Linked DNA regions of Homo sapiens: regions 1, 2 and 4 are each linked to region 3. Evidence: promoter capture Hi-C in 16 types of primary human blood cells and fetal thymus (Javierre and others, 2016). All regions are on one chromosome and are shown on one strand. The core of a region is centred on a gene start or on the middle of the fragment in contact, and the rest is flanking DNA. Distances in the headings are between cores, read along the strand shown. Region 1 holds the start of ZNF345 (zinc finger protein 345). Region 2 overlaps ZNF383 (zinc finger protein 383). Region 3 holds the start of SCGB2B2 (secretoglobin family 2B member 2). Region 4 holds the start of ZNF527 (zinc finger protein 527).

Region 1 (5,889 bases), core at 1,170-3,669, 2.2 Mb before region 3:
CCTGGGCAATAAGAGCGAAACTTCGAGTCAAAAAAAAAAAAAAAAAAAAGAAAGAAAGAAAGCAAGCTTTTGGCTTTAAGACCAAAGAAAATCTTCATTATCTTGAGGTAGACAAAAATTTCTTAAACAAGACTAACCATAGGAAATGATTTTATTACAATGAAATCCAGAACTTCTATTTGTCAAAAGGCACCACATAGAGTGAAAAGTCAAACCAGAGCAGGTGAAAATACTTATCACACATACAACTGAAAAAAGATTAATTTACAGAAGATATATACACATATGTACAACTGCCGTAAATCAGAGAAAAACCCAATTAAAAATTGGTCAAATATTTGAACAACACCTTATAAAAGGGGACATTCAACTGCACTCCAGCCTGGGCAATAGAGACTCAGTCTCAAAAAAAAAAAACAAAAAAAACAAAAAAGGGGACATTCAAATGGCCAAGAATCAATGCTCAACTTTATTAGCAATAAAGGAAATTTAAATTAAATATAACATTAGACACCCACCAGATTGGCAAAAATTTAAGAGTTTTATGATGTCTAGCATGGATGTGGAGCTAAGAAAACTCTTGTAAACTGCTGGCATAAGTACAGTATCTTTAGAGAACAGTTTGGCAATGTTTGGTAAAACTGAAGATGTACAAACCCTACCTATTAGCACTTTTTTTTTTTTTTTTTGAGATGGAGTCTCACTCTGTCACCAGGCTGGAGGGCAGTGGCACAATCTTGGCTCACTGCAACCTCTGCCTCCCGGGTTCAAGCGATTCTCCTCAGCCTCCCAAGTAGCTGGGACTACAGGCGCGTGCCACCACGCCCAGCTAATTTTTGTGTTTTTAGTAGAGACGGGGTTTCCTCATGTTGGCCAGGATGATCTTGATCTCTTGACCTCGTGATCCGCCCGCCTTGGCCCCCCAAAGTGCTGGGATTACAGGCATGAGCCACTGCATCCAGCCACTATCAGCAATTTAATCACTAGGTATATATTCTAAAGAAATGCAAGCAAATGTGTACCAAAATATGCGCACAAAATGATCATAGTCACACTGCCTGTAGTAGCCAAAAATTACAAGACAAATGTCCATCAAGAGTAGAAGGATAAGGCCGGGCACAGCAGCTCACGCCTGTAATTCTGTCTCAAAAAAAAAAAAAAAAAAAGAAAGAAAGAAAAAAAAAAGAAAAAGAAAAATTAAAACCATCTGACAAATCAGTAAGGGAAAATCAGGTGTGGGAGGTGGGGTTTGAAGACACCACATTTTCTCAAAATGGAAACTCCAGGGATCAGGTCATCTCATAGGCAAGAATTTTCAAGAGAAGGAAAGCAACTATGTCCTGACAAAGAAAAAGGGATTTTTCTTAAACAAGAGGACAGGACAAGCTACCTTGCAGGTGCCTTGTGGATGTTCAACAGCCATTCTTTACTCCTGTTCGGAGGCCTCTATCCAAGCAGGGCAGGGCTGAGGAAGGAGAAAGCAGTCAGGAAACATCAGGTTCTTCTGAGAGGGAGTTGGTTTGACTATGTCAGAAGTTATCTTTGCTCAGCCCCTACTGCCCATCACCTACAGAGGAAGGTCAGAGAAGTCTAGGGCATCCTGCTTAATCCGGGCATCACAGACAACGGTAGGGTCAATGCCGTTCTGGGCAGAACCTGTCCCTGAGCTCACAGGGGTCTCCAATGGCTGAAGTCACAAAGACAAAGACTCCCCATACCTACATTGGCTATACGGACACATAGTCACACAAACTCACTCACACCGCAGGGACATAAACGTCACAGGCACCCCAAACCTAAACACAACACACAATCACACACTCATACACACCACGGGGGTAGACACGGACACAACCACAGAGTCCGTGGGCATCTCTCAAATTCCCAGTGACATACACCTTGGGGTCACAATGACAACAAATTCACACGCACCCTCCATCAACAATATCACCAACGCGCGCGCACACACACACACGGAAGCAGCCACAAACCTCAAAATTAAGGCATACTACACACAGTTCGGCAAATGGTAGTAAACACACACACACACACCCCAAGGGGACATACAGTCACAACCGCGGTCCAGGAACCTCACACTCGCAAACACAGTGCCCAACCCGGTCACAATTAAACTCTACTCACACCCGCACAAACATAAACAAAAAGTCCTCCTCCCCGCCCTCACAGTTCCATACACGGTCGCACAGACACACGCCCCCAGTCACAACCGTACACACTCCTCACAATCGCTCCTTAGCCTGTTCCCCACGCAGCCCACACAGGTCGGGAGTTCCTGTCGCGCCAGGCTCCGAGCCGCCTCACTTACGCCTGTTCGGATAGGGTCAGCTCCGTTCTACTAGAATCCACACAAGTCGACCCTAGCTATCTCACAAAGCCCCAAGGCCGCTTGCCCAAATCCGCGGGAAGATCCCGCCCACTCCTCAAGAGACAATCTAGTTATCGCGGGAGAGTGCCCTGGGCCTAGAGGCTTCTGGGAAGTGTAGTCCAGAAAGCGACAGGTTGCCGAAAGCTACAGCCCAGCCATCCCGATTCCCCTGGCGCGGACTCTGGCACCAACAAAACTATCTCTTTGAGGTGAGCTGCCCATCGGAGCCTTCCGGGAGTCTCACCTGACAAGGAGTCCCTAGACCAAGCTTTAGTCAGGCTCCTCTGAGCCCTTTTTGCTTGGCCAGGCCTCCTCCATAGCCTGCGAACAGCACTTCAGCAAGAATCCAGCTAAGCCAGTTTAGTAACAATCCCCCCACTCTTGATACTTAACTTCCTCTTAGTAATTTAGCATCCTTTAACTCCTTCACCCAGCCCGTTAGCTATAAATCTCCAGCTGCTGTTGTATTGGAAGTTGACTATTGCAATAGTCTTTAACCAAGTCCTTCTTGCCTGTTTAAGTCCTCTGGGGCAAGCTTTCTTTCACCCCGCCCAGCCTCAGAGGGCGGCTCCCGGGCTTCCGCCCCTCCTCGGGAGACATACTGGACCGCAGGGTCTCCTGGGAAACGTAGTCCAAGCCTCGCCGGGGATAGATGGGCCCAACTAAAGTGTGCTGCGTTCTCTGGGTCCTGAGGCGGCAGTCTGGCCGCAGTGACCAGACTAACTGTGCCCCGGAGGCTGCTTGGAATTCCACTTAACGCTGGAAGCACGCAGACGCTCTTGAGGCGGGCAGCTGCGTAGCGTGTGGAGGAGCCGGGAGAGCGCACCCCAATGTGGCACCTGAGCGTCTGGGACCGAACCAGCATGGGGAGTCGGAAGGGGACAAATCCGCGATCCCAGTCATGCATGTGAGACTGGGCAAAGGAAGGCTCGAGTGTGTGTGAGACCGCGGTGGGCCTGCTTGTGCTGGTGGGATGAGGGGTGTCTGGGTAGTTGAGTGAAAGAAACCGCGTGCGGGTCAGATTGGTGTGTGTGTGAGAGAAGTGAGGTCAAGATGTGTGCAGCTTTGGGCGTGGGGAGGTCATATTGAGTGTGTGGAGGTGGGGGGGGCAAGATCGTGTATGGATCTGTGTATGAGTGTGTGTAATCACCTGAATGTGGGTCACTGCGTGGGTAGCTGATACTATGACTGTGGAGGAATCTGAACCTCCAAGTCTCATTTTCTCTTTAAATTGTGATAACAAGGTTGTATCTTCCTGGTGCAGCAGTTTTAAAGGGGGGAAGCTCCATTACTGATATAATAAAATAGCATTTTTTATGTAAACATTTAACATTCAGACATTTCTTCTGAACTAGAGTACAAAATCAGTTATGAGTACTCCAAGTAGTTTAAAAAAGAAACCCGTCATAATAGATGCATATGGGGAAGATAAATAGTGAAAGGGGAACTTCCTTTTCACTATACTCTTGTTAAATTTTTAAAATCAATGTGAGGACTCATTTGAAAACAAATATAAAATTAAAAAACTGACAGAAAGGGGAGCTAGGAGGAAATCAATAATTTTTTAAGCTAGAAACTTTGGGAGGTGGTAGAGGTTGCCGAAATATGATGGCAGGAAGTGTATGACAACAGGAAATGCTGATGTAAAATATAATCCTGAAGCTTTTAACAATGGCAGGAAGGGCCGGGCATGGTGGTTCATGCCTGTGATCTCAGCACTTTGGAAGGCTGAGGCAGGAGGATCACTTGAGCTCAGGAGTTTGAGACCAGCCTGAACAGCATACTCTCTACAAACAAAACAAAACAAAAAAACCAAGCATGAGTGCGGTGGCTCACGCCTGTAATCCCAGCACTTTGGGAGACTGAAGTGGGTGGATCACTTGAGCCCAGGAGTTCAAGACCAGCCTGGCCAATATGGTGAAACCCCGTCTCTACTAAAAATACAAAATTAGCTGGGCGTGGTGGTGTGCACCTGTAATCCCAGCTACTTTGGAGGCTGACGCAGGAGAATGGCTTGAACCCGGCAGACAGAGGTTGCAGTGAACTGAGATCGCACCACTGCACTCCAGCCTGGATGACAGAGTGAGACTCCGTCTCAAAAAACCCCCAAAAAACAAGGGGACCTCCTCTTTCGGCTTTGGAGCCACCACCCCCCCAACCCCCATCTCTGTATGGGGGAACTTCTTCCTTCTGTCTTCTCCCTTCCTTCTTGCCTATTAAACTCTCCGCTCCTTAAAACAAAACAAAATACAACAAACAAACAAACAAAAAGACCCAAAAAACAAAAACAACAAAATTTGGACTATACAGGCAAGCGATCTATACCTAATGTGGCTCTGTTGCTCTAGTTCTCCAGCATCACATTCCTGTACAGCTCCATCTGAACATCTTTTAATTATGGCTAAGGCTCTTGGTTGAGTGAGGCAATCACATTTTTGTATGTTTACCCCACCAATGTCTCCTAAAAAACAGAAAAAAGAAAACGCCTGTGGGGTAGTCCGGGAAATAAGCTGTTTGAACTCAGCCCTTTGTGTTTCTATGAAGGCTTCATTATGTAGGCATGATTAATTAAATCAGCAGCGATTGGTGATGAGTTCAACCTTCAGCCCTTTTCCTTTTCCCAGAAGTCATGGGGTAGGGCAGAACTTTCCAACATTCTAATCACATGTTTGGTTGCCCTATCCTGTGGTTATGTAGGGGCTTTACTAACTTCACCTCATTAACTCACTTGTGGTTGAAAGGGGTTGGTTAATGAACAGTAAAGACATCTTTCACATTTATTACTCTGGTGCTATTTCAGGAACTGAAGTGTCTTAGTCCCTTAGTACTTCTACAGCAAAATACCTGAGAAGCAAAATACCTGAAAAGTAATTTGTAAATAATAGAAAATTATTTCCCACAGTTCTGGAGGCTGGGAAGTTCAAGATTGAGATGCCAGCAGGATAGGTGTCTGGTAGGTCTGCTCTCTGATTCCAAGATGGGACCTTGCTGCTGCATCCTCCACAGGGCAGGAATGCTGTGTCCCCACATGTCAGAAGGTACTGAAGGGCTGGACCCATTCCCTCAATCCTTTTTTTGAAAGCACTAATTCCATCTATGTAGGCTCTTCCCTCATAATTTAATCACCTCCTAAGGGCTCCACTTCTTTTTTTTTTTTTTGAGACAGAGTCTCTCTTTGTCGCCCAGGCTGGAGTGTAATGACGTGATCTTGGCTCACTGCAACCTCCATCTCCCCAGTTCAAGTGATTCTCCTGTCTCAGTCTCCCAAGTAGCTGGGATTACAGGCACATGCCACCAATCCCGGCTAATTTTTGTATTTTTAGTAGAGACGGGGTTTCACCATGTTGTCCAGGCTTGTCTCGAACTCCTGACCTCAGGTGATCCACCCGCCTCGGCCTCCCAAAGTGCTGGGATTACAGGCGTGAAGGGCTCCACTTCTTAATCTAACACATTGGCGATTAAGTTTCACTATATAAATTTTGGGGAACACATTCAGAACATAA
Region 2 (5,457 bases), core at 2,942-5,441, 2.5 Mb before region 3:
GGTGGTACATGCCTGTAATCCCAGCTACTAGGGAGGCTGAGGCAGGATAATCGTTTGAACCTGGGAGGCGGAGGTTGCGGTGAGCCGAGATTGCGCCATTGCACTCCAGCCTGGGCAACAAGAGCGAAGCTCTGTCTCAAAAAAAAAAAAAAAAAAAAAGCCTGGCTGGGTGCAGTGGCTCATGCCTGTAATCCCAGCACTTTGGGAGGCCGAGGCGGGCAGATCACGAGGTCAACAGATCAAGACCATCCTGGCCAACATGGTGAAATTCTGTCTTTACTAAAAATACAAAAATTAGCTGGGCATGGTGACGCACGCCTGTAGTCGCAGCTACTTGGGAGGCTGAGGCAGGAGGACCAGGAGGCGGAGGTTGCAGTGAGCTGAGATCGTACCACTGCATTCTAGCCTGGCAACAGAGCAAGACTACATCTCAAAAAAAGAATAAATAAATAAATTTTAAAAATACGACTACCCCAGGTCAATATATCTTATAGTGAAACTGCAGATTTCACCATGCAAAAATTTAAAGCACACATCTTGTCCAATAAATGAACTTACAAAAATTAAAATCTATATTAAAAATAGAAACTTACATGTCTGTTGAAGTATAAAAAGGGACTCAGTCTCATGATCAACAGCTTAGGAAACTTAAATGCACATTGCTAAGTGAAAGAAGCCAATTCAAAAAGACTACATACTGTATGATTACAACATTCTGGAAAAGGCAAAACTATGGAGACAATAAAAAGATTAGGAGTTGACAGGGAGGGAGGATCAGTCAGGGCACAGAGGCCTTTTAGAGCAATGGAATTAATGTGGATGACATCATAATGGAGATAAATGTCATTACACATTTGTCCAAACCCCTGGATGTGTAACACCAGGAGTGAACCCTAATGTAAACTATAGACTCTGAGTGTCCATGTGGGTTCATTAGTTGTAATAAATGTACCACTCTGGTGGAGGATGTTGATGATGGGGGAGACCATACGTGTGGGGGAAAGACGTGTATGGGAAATCTCTGTACCTTCTGCTCAATTTTACTGTGAACCTAAAAGTACCCTAAAAAATAAAGCATATTAAAACAAATAAACAACTACAAAAAAGTAAGTCCTGTCACATGCTACATGTTTGAACCCTGAGGACATTATGCTAAGTCAGGGATTCAAGCAATGTATTTATAAATAACTGGTGGTTCAAAGAATAAATTGCAATGGAAGTTAAAAATATTTTACGAGGTCAGGAGATCGAGACCATCCTGGGCAACATGGTGAAACCCCGTCTCTACTAAAATACAAAAAAAAAAAAAAAAGTTAGTTAGACATGGTGGTGCGCGCCTGTAGTCCCAGCTACTTGGGAGGCTGAGACAGGGGAATCGCTTGAACCCAGGAGGCGGAGGTTGCAGTGACCTGAGATCGCACCATTGCACTCCAGCCTGGTGACAAGAGCGAGACTCCTTCTCAAAAAAAAAAAAAAAATTTAAACTGAATGATAATAAAAAGTAACATGTCAAACTAATTTATCAAAGCATTCAACTAATTCATTATTATATTGTATCCCGTTACTACTTGGGTTTGTGTGTGTCTACTGACTAACTGCAGTGAATCCCCTTTCTATCTTGGGGTATTGTGACTGGAAAGAAGCCAGTCACAAAAAGACAAATACTATTATAAATGATTCCACTTACAGAGGTATCTAAGGTAGTCAAACTCATAGAAACAGAAAGTAGAACAGTGGCTGCCAGGGGCTGGGGAAAGAGGGAAATGGGACATTGTAGCTTAATAGTTATAATTCAGTTTGCAAGATGAAAAAGTTCTAAAGATCTATTGTACAATATGAATATACTTAACACTGGAATGTACATTTAAAAATGATTAGCTTGGTGTGGTGGTTCACACCTGTAATCCCAGCACTTTGGGAGGCCAAGGCAGGTGGATCACCTGAGGTCGGGAGTTCGGGACCAGCCTGACCAACATGGAGAAACCCTGTCTCTACTAAAAATACAAAATTACCTGGGCTTGGTGGCACATGCCTGTATTCCCAGCTACTCGGGAGGCTGAGGCAGGAGATCACTTGAACCTGGGAGGCAGAGGTTGCAGTGAGCCAAGATCGCACCATTGCACTTCAGCCTGGGCAACAAGATCAAAACTCATCTCAAAAAAAAAATTATTAAGATGGCCAGGCGTAGTGGCTCATGCCTGTAATCCCACCACTTTGGGAGGCCAAGGCAGGTGATCACGAGGTCAAGAGTTCAAGACCAGCCTCACCAATATGGTGAAACCCCGTCTCTACTAAAAACACAAAAATTAGCCAGGCATGGTGGCACCCACCTGTAATCCCAGCTACTCAGGAGGCTGAGGCAAGAGAATCGCTTGAACCCGGAAAGCAGAGGCTGCAGTGAGCTGAGATCATGCCACTGCACTCCAGCTTGGGCAACAGAGTGAGACTCCGTCTAAAAAAAAAAAAACAAAGATTAAGATGGTAAATTTTACATTGTCTTTTATACCACAATTAAAATGAAAACAAAATCATTGAAAAAAAAAAAAAAGCTAGCTGGGCATGGTGGCACATTGTCTGTAGTCCCAGCTACCCGGGAGGCTGTGATGGGACAATCACCTGAGCCTGGAAGGTCGAGTTTGCAGTGAGCTGTGACTGCACCACTGCACTCCAGCCTGGGTGACAGAGTGAGAGGCCCGTCTCTCAAAAAAAGAAAAAAACAAAAAACCAGAAAAATCTACATGTTCAATGAAGTATAAAAAGGGACCCAGTATAATGATCAGTGGCTCAGATTCCAATGAGCTTATTTTGTGGAACCAAGTCCCAGGTACCAAACACTAATTAATTAATTGAGCCCTCAGCCTTTAAGTTAAGTCTGTGGTTGGTTTAATTTTCCTCTTATCAGATATTGGCAATTTTTGTGTTACTTCATATTTTAAGTTTTGTTAGAGATTTATTAATTTTATTAATTCCCAAAAATAAGCTTTTGCCTTTGTTAGTTTTCTTCACTGTACATTCATTTTGTATTTCAATATATGTTCGTTATGTACAGCAAAACACGTACACCTTAAATATATGCAATACCAAATAAACTAAAAATTTTATATTTGGGCTTTTATTCTTATTATTTCCTAGATTTTAATTTTGGGGGTTTAACTTTCTAGACTTTTCCTTAGCTTCTTGAGATGAATACATAGATCATTAATTTTTCAACATTAATTTTTTTCTTTTTTTTTTCTGAGATGGAGCCTCACTCTGCCGCCCAGGCTGGAGTGCAGTGGCGCGATCTTGGCTCACTGCAACCTCTGCCTCCCAGGTTCAAGCAACTCTCTGCCTCAGCCTCCTGAGTAGCTGAGATTACAGGTGCCCGCCACCATACCTGGCTACTTTTTTTTGTATTTTTAGTAGAGATGGGGTTTCACCATCTTGGCCAGGCTAGTCTTGAACTCCTGACCTCGTGATCCACCAGCCTGGGCCTCCCAAAGTGCTGGGATTACAGGTGTGAGCCACTGCGCCCGGCCAACATTCATTTTTTTCTAACATATGCATTTACAGCTATATATTTTCCTCATATTCAGCTTTAGAAACATAATTTTGGTATGTTATTTTTCATTATCACTCAGTTTAAAATATTTTAAATATCTATCACAATTTATTCTTTGAGTCACCAGTTATTTATAAATACATTGCTTAAATCCCAAACATTGGGATATTTCTTTAATTTTTGTTTTTTTAAATTTAGAAATGGGGTCTTGCTATATTGCCCAGGGTGGCCTAAAACTTCTGGGTTCAAGCAATCCTCCTGCCTCGGTTTCCTAAAGTGCTGGGATTACAGGCATGAGTCACCACACCTGGCTGGGATATTTCCAATTATCTTCTTGTTATTGACTTCTAGCTTAACCTACTGTGGTCAGGAAAGTTACAGTATTATTTCATTCCTTTGAAATTTATTGAGACTCCCTTTGTGGCCCAGCATATGATCAATTTGGATAAATGTCTCATATGCATTTGAAAAGCAAGTATATTATGTAGTTGTAAGGTACACTGTTCTATACATATCAATCAGGTCAAGCTTGTCAATCACACTGTTCAAATACCATATAGCTTTATTGGGTTTGTCACTTGTTCTGTCAGCTATTGAGAAGAGTGCTAAAAACTCCCCACTAAGATTGTGATTTATCTACTACTTCTTTTAGTTATGTCAAATATATTTGAAGCCATTTTATGAAGGCATATAAATTCAGAACTGTTATATCTTACTGGTGAATTGATCTTTTTATTATAAACTATTCCTCTTTATCTCTAGTAAAGCTTCTTGTTGTAAAATCTATTCTTGTCATAAAGTCTACACTGCAGTTTGGAATATAGATTGATACCACTATTTCAGAAAACTGTCAGTATCTATTAGAGCTGAACATATACAGAAACCATGACCCAGCAATTTCACTCCTAGAAATACACCCAAGACAAATGCATTCATATGTGCACCAAAAGACATGTAAAAGAATGTTCCCGGCAGCGTTTTTCATAACAGCCTCAATATGAAATCAAATGCCAATCAGTAATGGAATGGATAAGTAAAATGTGTTATATTCGGCCGGGCACGGTGGCTCACACCTGTAATCCCACCACTTTGGGAGGCCGAGGCGGGCGGATCACCTGAGGTCAGGAGTTTGAGACCAGCCTGGCTAACATGGTGAAACCCCGTTTGTATTAAAAATACAAAAAATTAGCTGGGTGTGGTGGCGTGCGCCTGTAATCTCAGCTACTTGAGAGGCTGAGGCAGGAGAATCGCTTGAACCCAGGAGGTGGAGGTTGTGGTGAGCAGAGATGGTGCCATTGTACTCCACCTTGGGCAACAAGAGCGAAACTGTCTCAAAAACAAAAAAAAGTGTTATATTCATACAACAGAATTTTAAACAGCAATAATAATGTGTTCACTATATTCATTATATCACCTATAACTAACGTGCAGCAACATGGATGAATTTTATATATTTATACTACATATTATTACAGAATACATTCATATTACATACGAAATACAATATTGAGCAAAAGAAGCCAAGCATCATCTCCAAGTGAAACTGACAGTAGGAAAAAAAAAGTGAAAAAAAAAGAAGCCAAGCAAAATTCAAGTATAGGTAAAATTAGTCTATGGCTATAGAAGACAAACTATTAGTTCTCTTTAGGAGAAGTGGGTAGTGAGTGAACTGGACAAGACTTGGGCTTCTGTAATGCCAGTTATGTTTTATTTCCTTATCAGATTTGAGATCTGGTCAAAGGAATATGCTTTTTCTTTTTTTTTTTTTTTTTTGAGACAGAGTCTCGCTCTGTCGGCCAGGCTGGAGTGCGGTGGCACAATCTTGGCTCATTGCAAGCTCCACCTCCCGGGTTCACACAATTCTCCCGCCTCAGCTTCCCAAGTAGCTGGGACTATAGGCGGCCGCCACCATGCCC
Region 3 (5,921 bases), core at 3,422-5,921:
GGGTGAAAAGACTGAAGGATGGTTTCATGTCATAGATCAGGGGTCTAACACCTGGGCCACGGACTGGTACTGGTCTGTGGCCTTTAGGAACCGGGCAACACAGCAGGAGGTGAGTGGCAGGAAAGAGCATTATCACCCGAGCTCCACCTGCTGTCAGATCAGCTATAGCATAGATTCTTACAGGAGCGCAATCCCTACTGTGAACTGCACATGCAAGGGATCGAAGTTGCACACTCCTTATGTCAATCTAATGCCTGATGATCTGAGGTAGAACGGTTTCATCCCCAAACCATCACCTCCACCACCTCCCACTTCCGTGGAAAAATTGTCTTCCACGAAACTGATCCCTGGTGTCAAAAAGGTTGAGGACTCCTGCCATAGACAGTCCTTAAATAGGACCTGGAAGGGGAAAAAAATAAGAGTAGATTTCAAAGAAAATATTCTAAGGAAATGCTCACAGATGTGCTTAGAAATTCTTCTCAATAGTACTCATTTCACAGTATTATTTAAAATAGTAAAACTTTAGAAGTTTAAATATTCAATAATAGCTTATTGGCTAGTCAAATTATAATATGTGCAAAAAGTACAGCCATTTAATACAGAGTTATTACTGTCTGTGATTTGTAAAACAGACTGCTCTACTGTGGTAATTTTTTAGCTCTGAGAGTTCATTCAGTATTGTATTACTTTATTTGGATATTTTGCATGCATGTTCACCAGTGACATGGATCTTTGGTTTTAAAGGCAGAATTTACTTTTCTCAGGTTTGGAGAAAATAATTAAAATTCGAATCGCCTTCCAATGGCAGAAAATCCTCTCCACAAATGTAGAAAAAAAAAGAAAGCAGTTTTATTACTGAATAAGCTAAATCAGACCTTGATGCACTTCACAAGCGATCCACTATTGAGATGAAAAGGACAGGAAGAAATCTCATCTTTTTATATAGGCAAGCAGATACAATCCAACACACATTTTCCAAATAAACAATAACTTATCCTCAAGTAAGATTTGACAGTTCAATTTGCTACACAAAATTTCTTCTAAATTCACCTGTTAATTGGAGTTGCCACTGTGTTAATTGCCTATATCCCAAATAAAAATAACATTTCTCATATCTTTGACAAACCAGTCATTACAACTTAGAGCCAGGGATGCTTCTTTCTTCCCCTTCAGTTGCCTGGGCAGCTTGAGATGTTCACTCATCTCAGTTCCCAAAAGAACATAGGATATCTATCCTAGCACTTATTTAAATTTCCCATGCTTTCTTACTTTTCTACCAGTGCCACAATCTTCAATACAGGAGCCACTAGCCAACTTGGCTACAACATTTAAATTAATTAAAATGTAAAAATAAAATAATTAAATAAAATTTAAAATTTATTTTCTCCATTGCTTAAGCCACAGTTCAAGTACTCAATAGTCAGATGGGGCTGTTGGCTACCGTACTGATCAGTACACATGCACAGCACTTCCACCACTGCAGAAAGTTCTCTTAGACAATACTGCACTAGATCATGAAGTCCTGTGTGTCAGTGTACACCAAAATCCATGTACAACTCTTCCTAACAGGTACTTCATAAGTGTTTAGAAGATGAACCAATGAATGGTTTTGGCATTAGTTCACTTTAGCCTTTACTTTGTTTTTTCTTTCAAGAGGCAGGTTCTTGCTCTGTCACCAAGCTGGAGTGCAGTGACATAATCATAGCTCACTACAGGCTTACACCAGAGGGCTCAAGAAATCTTCCTACCTCATCAGCCTCCCGAGTAACTGGGACAACAGGCATGCACTACCACACCAGTTTTTCAATTCTAATTATCTTAATTATTCCATGAAAACAGACTTCACCCAAGATGTACATCTGCTACTTACATCCCCTCCTGTGCAAGCTTCACCTTCCATGCCATGATTCTGCCCCACCAGTTCTTCATTACTCATCTTATTCACTCCACAATTACTTACTAAGCATCCATTTGGTGCCAGGTAACACTCTGGGTACTGACGCTATAACAGTCAACAAAGAAGAAAAAGCATTCCTCCCACCAGGAACAGACAATGAGCACGTGCATATACTGAACATACAGTACATCAGCTAGTGAGTGACACACACTGTGGAAAACAACAAAGCAGTGATGGAGGAGTGGAAGCGCTAGGGAAGGTGACTGCAATTGCAAATAGGCTTTCAGGGAAGCTGTTCTGAGAAAGTAACCACGGAACAAACACAGAAGGAGATAAGGATGCAAGCTTGTGCGTATGTGGGGGAAGAATATTCCACGTGGATGGCACAGCAACTGGTGACAGAGGCTGGAGCGCACAGGAATGAGGAGGCAGAGAAGGAAGGTGGGATCAGGGAGGTAATGGCCTAATTGTACAAATAGGTCATTGCAGAAGTGACTCAGTTAGAACCACTGAAAAATTTTAGGTTGCGGAATGACAGGAATTTATATAACAATAGGACCATGGTCACAGCTGTACTGAGAACAGACTGATGAGGGTTAAGGGCAGATGCTGGGAATCCAGCTAGGAGGCTACCGCAATAATCCAGGTGGCTCGGACTGGGGTGGTAGTGGTGGTGGTGGTGATGGGCTAACTAATGGTCAGATGCTGTATACGGTGTATCGTTTAGATCCAAACTAGAGGACCTGAATATGAGTTATAAGTCAAAAGGAAGAATCAAGGATGACTCCAAACATCTCTTCACTTGAGACCACATGGTACAGTTTTGACAACCATAAACCGAATAACCTTACATTCCAAAGTTGCATTGTGAATTACAGTTTTAAAATGTTGGCAATCTAGAAAGTCTTCTAGCAGAAAACTGTAGAAAAGAGGAACACTGGGTGATGAGGACAATACCTTGGAGCTCTCCTGTGGGCTCCATTCTTCCTATAGTGAAAGGAACCATAGATCTAGTCCCTTAAATGGACTTGATTAGGTGGGAACAGGCAGGAGAAGCAAAGCAAACACACAGAGGCCTAATAAAGTGTTTCAGGAAGATTTGGGGACACACCGACTTACCTGAGACATTATTCTGCAATTTCCAATGGCCAACAGAGTCCCCTTTCCAGGTTCTTATCTTAGAGATGGGCAGTGTCCTGAGGGCACAGAAAGGCAGGAAAAAGCAGTCATGAAAAATCGGGCTTATCTTGCGGCACCTGTCACACACCTTAATGGAAAAGCACACTGGTAATCACTCGCCGGAGCGTCAATCTCTCCCTGGGAAGGAACAGGGTGTTTCTCCGCAAGGGCTATTTACCAGGTGCCACCTGCGGGGAAAATCAATTATTCTGTATACAAAAGACTCATAAAACAACGGTAACAACTTTATCAGCTCGTTCAGTCTTCACCACTTTGCAAGGTGTGCATTCATATTATTCCAGATTTTTTTTTTTTTTTTTTTGAGACGGAGTCTCGTTCTGTCTCCAGGCTGGAGTGCAATGGAGCGACCTCGACTCACTGCAACCTCTGCCTCCCGGGTTGAAGCGATTCTCCTACCTCAACCTCTCGAATAGCTGGGATTATAGACACGTGCCACCACGCCCAGCTAATTTTTTTTTGTATTTTTAGTAGAGACGGCGTTTCGCCATGTTCGTTAGGCTGGTGCGGTGGCTTACGCCTTTAATCCCAGCACTTCGGAAGGCGGAGGCGGGCGGATCGCTTGAGGTCGAGTTCTAAACCAGATTTATTTTTTAAAATGAAGACAAAACTGAAATTCCGAGATACTGAACCCATTTGTTCAAGGTTGCACAACTGAAAGCGCCGGCTTCATGACGACATAACCCAAAAAAAACTGTAGCTGGCGTCTGCTCTCGCGCCCACTTCGCTCTCACAACAGTGCCAAGAGGTCGGCGCCGTCATCACCCCGCGTTTACACGGCTCAACAGGAAGGCCAGGAAATGCCCAAGGCCCCGGCCGTGGTCAAACCGCGCGCGGACCCAGGGCCTTAGCCCCGCCGTCGCCGCGACCCACACTTGCCGGAGTCCTCAGCAGGGCCTCACCGTCCCGCAGGCGCCCCGAGCCCGCGCCTCCGCGGACCTGACGCGCCGCGTAGCTGGTGAGCGGGTAACGGCGGCCGACCTCCGGGAACGACACTGCCCCAAACCGTTCCTTAGCTTGGAAGCCGCCGCCAGGCCTGAAGCTATCGCGGGACTGACCCAGTGCACCGCCCACGGCGAACCACATTTCCCAGAATCCTCCCCCTGCGGTACAAATGTCCCGGAAGCCGCGAACCGCCGGCACCCGAAGACCACACTTCCCAAGGGTCTCTGCGGCTGCGCGGACCTGGTGCGCCGCGGGCAAACCGGTCACGGCTTTGTAAGTAGCTTAACCGCCTGGGGCCGTCGACCTAGAGCCGGCCAGCTAGGACCATGCGCAAATTGTCCTGGGGCACACAGTCGTCCTCTGGTGAACGATACAACTCGAAACCAAGGGACACCCTCTACTTATAAGGGCCATGGCGCCCGGACCAAGAAATTACATTTCCCAGAAAACTGCAGCCGTGCCAAGGTCTTCCGGGTCATTCCTGCGCTCACACAAACGTTTCCCTCCGAGACATGGGCAGCCCTTGCTGGTACCGCGCAAGTGCTCGCCGTTGCTAGCAAAGGGGCTCCTCTCATCCCAAACCCTGCCGCTATGCTGTTCACCTTCAGGTCTTTTTTTTTTTTTTTTTTTGGCACTCATTTGCCCAAGACGATAACTCACAAAACGCCCTGTGGCCCGACTGTCACGACTGTAGTTCGCCAACCAAGGGCATTTCCTGGAAATGCAAGGGGACACGTATCTGTGACACTAATGGCCGTTCTGACGTGCGTTACGCCCCTGGAAGGACTTGGAAATACTGAACTTGAGTGAGCACTGGGAGGATGGAGACCCTCATCCTGGGAGGAGTCACTCCTCCCGCAGCCATCACAGCCTGACGCCCCCTCTCCCCAGAAGTGCTTCTTAGGCCCACCCAAAAGGGCAATGGACCTCTCTGTATGCAAGCCAGAGCAGTCTACTGTTTGTGTATATTTGGGTTGTTTACTTTCTTTTTAACACTTAAATGTTAATTGACTTCAATCATTTTTAAAATTATAAATAGTGTCGCTATAGACTTTTTTGTACTTATTAAGTACTGACCTGCATGATCTTCGTGAAGCAGTGCTTCTGTTACCAGAAAGGGGTCCGGATCCGACCCCAAGAGAGAGTTCTTAGAGCTCACGCAAGAAAAAATCCATGGGAGAGCACAGTGCAAAGCCAAAGCAAGTGTATTAAGAAAGTAAAGAAACAATGGGTACTCCATTGTTAGAGCAGCAGCTTGGGCTGCTGGACTAGGGATACTTGTATTTATTGCTTGATGATGTGCTAAACAAGGGTGGATTATTCATGAGTTTTCCAGGAAAGAGGTGGGCAATTTCAATTTCTCGGAGCTGAGGGCTTCCCAGCTTTTTGAACCATACAGGGTAACTTCTGAACCTTACCATGGCATTTGTAAATTGCCATGGCACTGATGAGCGTTTCTCTTAGCGTGCTAATGCATATAATTAGCATATAACCGAGAGGTGAAGCCAGCTGGGCTTCTGGATCAGGTGGGGCCTTGGAGAACTTTTCTGTATAGCTGAAGGATTGTAAATACACCAATCAGTGCTCTGTGTCTAGCTAAAGGTTTGTAAATGCACCAGTCAGCACTCTGTAAAAACGGACCAAACAGCACTCTGTAAAATAGACCAATCAGCGCTCTGTAAAATGGACAAATCAGCAGGATGTGGGCGGGGCCAAATAAGGGAATAAAAACGGGCCACCCGAACAACCAGCGGCAACCGCGCTGGGGTCTACTTCCCAGGTGTGGGATGTTTGTTCTTTTGCTCTTTGGGTCTGCACTACCTTTATGAGCTGCAACACTCACCCTGAAGGTCTGCAGCTTCACTCTTGAAGCCAGCGAGAC
Region 4 (5,952 bases), core at 3,339-5,838, 2.7 Mb before region 3:
TGTCTCATGTTTTAAATACACTAAGGACAGCCGGGCACACTGGCTCACCCCTGTAATCCCAGCACTTTGGGAGGCCGAGGCAGGCAGATCACGAGGTCAGGAGATCAAGACCATCTTGGCCAACATCGTGAAATCCATCTCTACTAAAAATACAAAAATTAGCTGGGCGTGGTGGTGTGTGCCTATAGTCCCAGCTACCCGGAAAGCTGAGGCAGGAGAATCGCTTGAACCCAGGAGGCAGAGGCTGCAGTGAGCCGAGATTGCGCCATTGCACTCCAGCCTGAGCGACAGAGCAACACTCCATCTCAAAAAAAAAAAAGAAAAGAAAAGAAAGAAAGGAAAGAAAGGAAAGAAAGAAAGAAAGAAAGAAAGAAAAGAAAGAAAGAAAGAAAGAAAGAAAGAAAGAAAGAAAGAAAGAAAGAAAGAAAGAAAGAAAGAAAGAAAATACACTAAGGACTCCCAAATTCACATCTGTAGTCCTGAACTCCAGATGTATAATCAGCATTCCATTTGGATATCCAAAAGGTCTCTAAATATATCCAGAATTCAATTATTGATATCCATCCCACTTCACATTGTCTTTCCAGCTCAGTAAATGGGATGCCCATTCATGTAGCTGCCTAGCCAAAAATCTCTGTAGGCATCCTGACTTCTTCCTCTCACATGCCACAACGAATCCTTGATCAAATCGCATTTTCTATCTCCAGTCTATACCCAGAATCTCACTAGCTCCAATGCCACCACCATGATCCAGGCTGCTATCACCTCCTGTCTGGATTACTAAAAGAGTCTCCTGACTGGCCTCTCTGCTTCCACCTGTACTCCCCTGCTATCTGTTTTCACTTTAAGGCATAAATCAAATCAGATCACAAACGTTCCAATGGCTCTCCTTCACTTAGAACCAAATTCAAAGTTCAGATCATGACTTGAAAGGGCCTACGTAATTTGGTTCCCAGCTATACCTCTGACATCACAGTGCTCATTTCCCTCCAAGGACAGACTCATTGCTATTCCTGGAATACACCAAACATGTTCCCACCATAATAACTTTGTACTCCTTCTTTTAAAGCTCTTCCCCAGATCTCCACAAAACTTACTTGCTACTTTCACTGAAGTTTTGTTTTGCTAAATGTCACTTCCTCAGAGAGGCCATCCTTGACCTCCCTATTTAATAGATCACTCAGTAATCAAACTCTATCCCTTATTTCACTTGCACTCATTGCCGACTCAACAAATCATCATCCATCTAAAGAGGATAGCTCTGCTCCATCACACATTTGAGCATAACACTGACTAAAAAAGATATTAAATGTTTTGTAGAAGGATTATATGAACAAAAGGTGGAGAGAGAAGTGGAAGGGGTGCTCATTGGGCTATTTGTGATTTTCCCTGTGGTCCCAAAGTCCTGAAAAATGAGGTCAAATGTCTGAAAACAAAGTGAAAGAGCATGCTTACCTGGGACATGGCTTTACAAAGCCCCACAGCCATTCCTCCTTCTTCAGTTTTCTCTTCTGAAGAAGAACAAAGTCCTGAGAAGGGAGAGTTAATGAAGAAATGATGATGTGCCAGCCCTGTGTTTTTGGTCCAAGACCCACAAAAATACTACTGCCCCTTTCTTCTCCCTACATGGGCCAGCCTCACCTTTTCCAAGATCTGGCCAGGGTGGCGGGGTGGAATCCAATGCTGAACTTAACTCCCAAAGTCTTGACTTATATATTAAGGACGCATAGCCTGAACTCAACAAAATCCAAAGTCTGTCCTACGGCCAACAAGGTGGTTCATGATCTGGCCCCTGGCTGCACCTCTGACCTAATTTCCTACCCTTCCGCCCCTTACTCGCCACACTCCAGGCACATGTCTTCCTACTGTTACTCAAACACTGTACACCCCTTCTTCAGGGTTGTGGACTTTTCCTTCCGTCTGGAACCTTCTCCCAGACACCAGCATGGGCCACTCCTCTTTATTCCTATCTGCATTCAGGTGTCCCTTCATCAGAGGGACTTCCCTGAAAATTCTACCTCAAGGGAACCCCTGTTCCAGGTACTCCATTTTTCTTTACCCTGAATTATTTTTTTCTCAGCATTTATCACCACTGGACATGTTACATACTGCTTTGTTTCTTTATTGTTTCTCTTCCCATGCAAGATTGTAAGATCCAAGAGAACTAGGTTTTGTTTGGTTCACAGGTGTATTCTAATGACAGAACACCACCAGACCATTGTAGTCTCTCAAAAAATTAGATAAATGAATAAATAAATTTTACTGTGCCTTATGTAATATAAATATACAATGTTAACTCATGCTGTGTTGGGCAAGTAATTTTAATCTTCCTGTGCCTCACAATCAGACTAGGTCCGACATAATCCCGTGATCTCACATACACATAAAATTCTCACCCAATCACAAACATATACACATTTACACAATCGGTGGCATAATCTCTCTCTCTCACACACACAGCCGTATTAGCACAAAGATAGAGAGACTGTCACACATGGTTATCTCATTGTGTCATTATCTCATTTAATCCTCAGAACTACTACTGCTCCACAAAACTACAAAGATAGGTATTAATATCTCCACTTTACTGGTAGTAAAAGGGAGGTTCCAGAAGCTTAAACAACCAACTCAAAGTCCGGGGTCCAACTGAAATGTGACCTCAAAACCAGTCCTCTTTTGAGAGGCCACGATGTCTGAATGGGAAATATTCAACACAACCCGAGTAATCAATGCCATATATTCCTTAGAGAGGCATCTTTAGAGATGGCAGGTGTTACCTTTATTTCTCTACAGAAATGCAGCCTGAGGGAAACATCGCCAAATTTTAATACTAAAGCAACAACAAACTGGGCAATCTGAAGTAAGTTCCTTGTCCTCTTAGAGCCAACATTTCTTCATTGTAAAAATAGAGACAGGCTGGGCACAGTGGCTCACACCAGTAATCCCAGCACTTTGGGAGGTCAAGGTGGGCAAATCACTTGAGACTAGGAATTCAAGACCAGCCTGGGCAACATGGCAAAACCCCATCTCCTCAAAAAGTACAAGAATTAGTTGGGCGTGGTGGCATGTGTCTGTAGTCCCAGCTACTTGGGAGGCTGAGGTGGGAGGCTTGATTGAACCCAGGAGGTAGAGGGTGCTGTGAGCCGAGATTGCACCACTGCACTCTAGCCTACAGGACAGAGCAAGACTCTGTCTCAAAAAAAAAAAAAAAAAAAAAAAGAAAAGAAAAGAAAAGAAAAGAAAGGGACAACTGTGGTTGACCTAGAATTCAGTATACATCACCCCCTAATTTCACCCCCTAATTCTGGACTACTTTGCACTAGGCAACTCAGTCCCTAGCAGTTATTTCCTTAGTGTAGTGCAGCTTGAAATTGTCCATAAAAACTGCAGCAGGGCGCAGCGCCTCACGCCTGTAATCCCAGCACTGTGGGAGGCTCTGGTGGGCGGATCATGAGGTCAGGAGTTGGAGACCAGCCTGGCCAAACATGGTGAAACCTCGTCTCTACTAAAAATACAAAAACTAGCTGGGCGTGGTGGTGCGCGCCTGTAATCCCAGCTACTTGGGAGGCTGAGGCAGGAGAATCACTTGAACCTGGGAGGCGGAGGTTGCAGTGAGCCGAGATCGCATCATTGCACTCCAGCCTGGGCAATAGAGTGAGACTCCATCTCAAGAGAAAAAAAAAAAAAAAAGCGAGACCTCTAGAGCTAAACTGCTTGGGTTTGAGTTCTGGTGCTGTCACTTGTTAACTGTGTGAACTTGGGTAATTCTAATATTTCTGTGCTTCATACATCAATCCCACAATCTCATATATACACACAAATTCTCACCCAATCACAAATGTATAGAGTCACACAAACACACCCATAATCTCACACAATACACAGCCACATAAGCACAAAGATAGATGGTAACATACAACTACACCAACAGAGATAAACAATCACACACAATCACACACAAAGTAGCATACCACAGAAGTCACACATCTTGTCACAATTACTGATACAAAACTATACCTGCGGAGACAGATGGTCATAGTCGCACAATCACACTTGCTGTCACACACATTCAAACGCAATTGTATCCGCAGAAACAGGTGGTCACATAACCACACACATGCATTTACACAAACACACAATGTCACACCCCAGTCTCTCATAAACACATACACAGCTACACCTGCAGAGACAGTCACACACAAACACACATATTCACAGTTTCACCCCCAGACACAGATGGTTACAGTCACACACAAGCGGGCGCACGCGCACAAACACACACACACAGTGACACAAGATCACATTCTGTCACACCCGCAGCCTGTCACATAGTTGGTAATACAGTGAAACACACACGGCCTCCCCAGCGACTCCTGCCGGGTTCCCATCCCTGGCGCGGCCGGGCCACCCGGAGCCCGCCCTTGACTTCCCGCTCCCGCCCGGGGCCCGGCCCCACTCACCTCCCGGCGCCGCGGGCTCTGCAAACGGGCCCCGCGACCGAGACCCGCGACGTCACCTCCCAGAATCCTCCGCGAGGAGGAGCGAGGCGAGGACTGAGGCATGCAGGACTCTGAGCTCTGCGAGATCTGAACCAGCGACACCGCGTTCCCCATGGACCCCGCGAACCACGAGCCCCAGAACGCTTTGCGCCACGGCCGTCATCGTTGAACTACATCTCCCAGAGAACCCCGCGGCCCCCTCCACTGCGCGCCTGCGCCACGGGGGCAGGTACCGGAGAGGGCTGTGTGCGGTCGTAGGCTCTCCAGTGACCTTGAGCTGCTGTGTTGGGGAAAGCGGCCAGGCTGCGCGCGGGGCTGACTGGTTGAATGCTTGGGTGTGGTGGTTCGTGTGTGACTGTTGCTGCACACCTTTATGCTTGCCGACGAAAGGAGCGGCGGATTTTGTCAGTGCAGGGAGCTTCTGTATTTTAAATCACGTCCCGTGATTGTGGGTAGCTGAATGTGAAAGTGATTGTGGATGAAAGAGACTGTGGCTGACATTGGGGGTGACCGTTTCTGTTACTGTGAGGATACCACTGATCCGATGTGTATCTGACTGTCTCCTGGTCTTACTGTTCCTTCACCCCCATCTCCTGCCATGGGCGGGGTCTGTGGTATCTTTTATTGAGGCAATCTCGGCGCTCACTGCAACCTCCGCCTCCCGGGTTCAAGCGATTCTCTTGCCTCAGCCTCCTGAGGAGCTGGGATTACAGGCACCTGCCACCACGCCCAGCTAATTTTTGTATTTTTAGTAGGGATGGGGTTTCACCATGTTGGCCAGGATGGTCTTCATCTCCTGAACTTGTGATCCACCTGCCTCGGCCTCCCCAAGTGCTGGGGTTACAGGCATGAGCCATCGCACCCGGCCTATTTTATTATTATTATTATTTCTCAATTGGTCAAAATAATATATTTAACATTTTAATATTATTAAACATACAAAAGGCCACACTTTGGCCCTCCTCTAGTCAAGCAGTTTCCTTCCTGGTGAAAGTCCATAGGCAGAAACATGCCTGCAAAGATCTCACAACCTTCTTTCAGACCATGCTCTGGGTATCCAAATCCCCAGGATTTCCTGTTCAAATGGACTCCAGCCTGCTTCCAGAGCCTGTATCTCCTCTGTGTCCAAAGACCCTTCCCTTGATCTGTCTTCCAAAGGTGGAATGTGCTGCCTATCCACAAAATGTGGCCAAATGAGAGCAATTTGGTAAGGCTAGACAGAGCTTAGATATGCAAGCTGGAGTGTCCACATGTGGGAATAGAAGACCTCTTACGATGTGGGACAAGGATGGCAGTGGGAACAGAAGGGGACTGGCTGGGGACCTCCATCTGTACTGTTGACCCAGGTCTCTACATGTCAATGACAGGCTCATTTATGTATAAACTATTTTGGAGACCAATGGTCTTATGATGATGGTGGTTTGAATTAGGGTCATCACTGGAAGAGGCAATG

The links. The method cuts DNA at HindIII sites, captures the fragments that hold promoters and counts their contacts. A CHiCAGO score of 5 or more calls a contact.
Region 1: a contact is called between the fragment with the promoter of ZNF345 here and the fragment with the promoter of SCGB2B2 in region 3, in 1 of 17 cell types (monocytes). The highest score is 6.5, in monocytes.
Region 2: a fragment that was not itself captured here is called in contact with the fragment with the promoter of SCGB2B2 in region 3 in 1 of 17 cell types (monocytes); the score reaches 5.2 in monocytes.
Region 4: a contact is called between the fragment with the promoter of ZNF527 here and the fragment with the promoter of SCGB2B2 in region 3, in 1 of 17 cell types (monocytes). The highest score is 5.8, in monocytes.

Annotation. Positions count from the first base shown.
Region 1 is chr19:36,847,406-36,853,294 of GRCh38, reverse strand. ZNF345 (zinc finger protein 345) reads right to left here and starts at 2,419. Exons shown (of 3, transcript NM_001242472.2): 1 at 2,327-2,419; 2 at 1,391-1,465. It also overlaps a transcript of ZNF790 not described here. RefSeq lists an enhancer at 2,657-2,896. The HindIII fragment of the contact is 2,588 bases long and covers 69-2,656 here.
Region 2 is chr19:37,221,813-37,227,269 of GRCh38, reverse strand. It overlaps ZNF383 (zinc finger protein 383), which reads right to left. Exons shown (of 6, transcript NM_001387601.1): 2 at 2,331-2,452. Among named protein-coding and RNA genes, the nearest start is that of ZNF383, 6.3 kb to the right of the region's middle. The HindIII fragment of the contact is 239 bases long and covers 4,072-4,310 here.
Region 3 is chr19:34,675,909-34,681,829 of GRCh38, reverse strand. It overlaps SCGB2B2 (secretoglobin family 2B member 2), which reads left to right and starts at 4,671. Exons shown (of 4, transcript NM_001025591.4): 1 at 4,671-5,921. ZNF302 (zinc finger protein 302) reads right to left here and starts at 4,152. Exons shown (of 5, transcript NM_001289187.2): 1 at 3,727-4,152; 2 at 3,017-3,093. The coding sequence starts at 3,025. It also overlaps the pseudogene ZNF807P and the pseudogene SCGB1B2P. RefSeq lists enhancers at 2,027-2,528, 3,386-4,282, 4,414-4,473, 4,524-4,623, 4,283-5,180 and a silencer at 3,904-3,963. The HindIII fragment of the contact is 5,389 bases long and covers 2,245-5,921 here.
Region 4 is chr19:37,369,735-37,375,686 of GRCh38, reverse strand. ZNF527 (zinc finger protein 527) reads right to left here and starts at 4,588. Exons shown (of 5, transcript NM_032453.2): 1 at 4,461-4,588; 2 at 1,456-1,529. The coding sequence starts at 1,488. RefSeq lists a silencer at 4,189-4,498 and enhancers at 4,529-4,838, 5,009-5,058, 5,079-5,218. The HindIII fragment of the contact is 7,295 bases long and covers 2,617-5,952 here.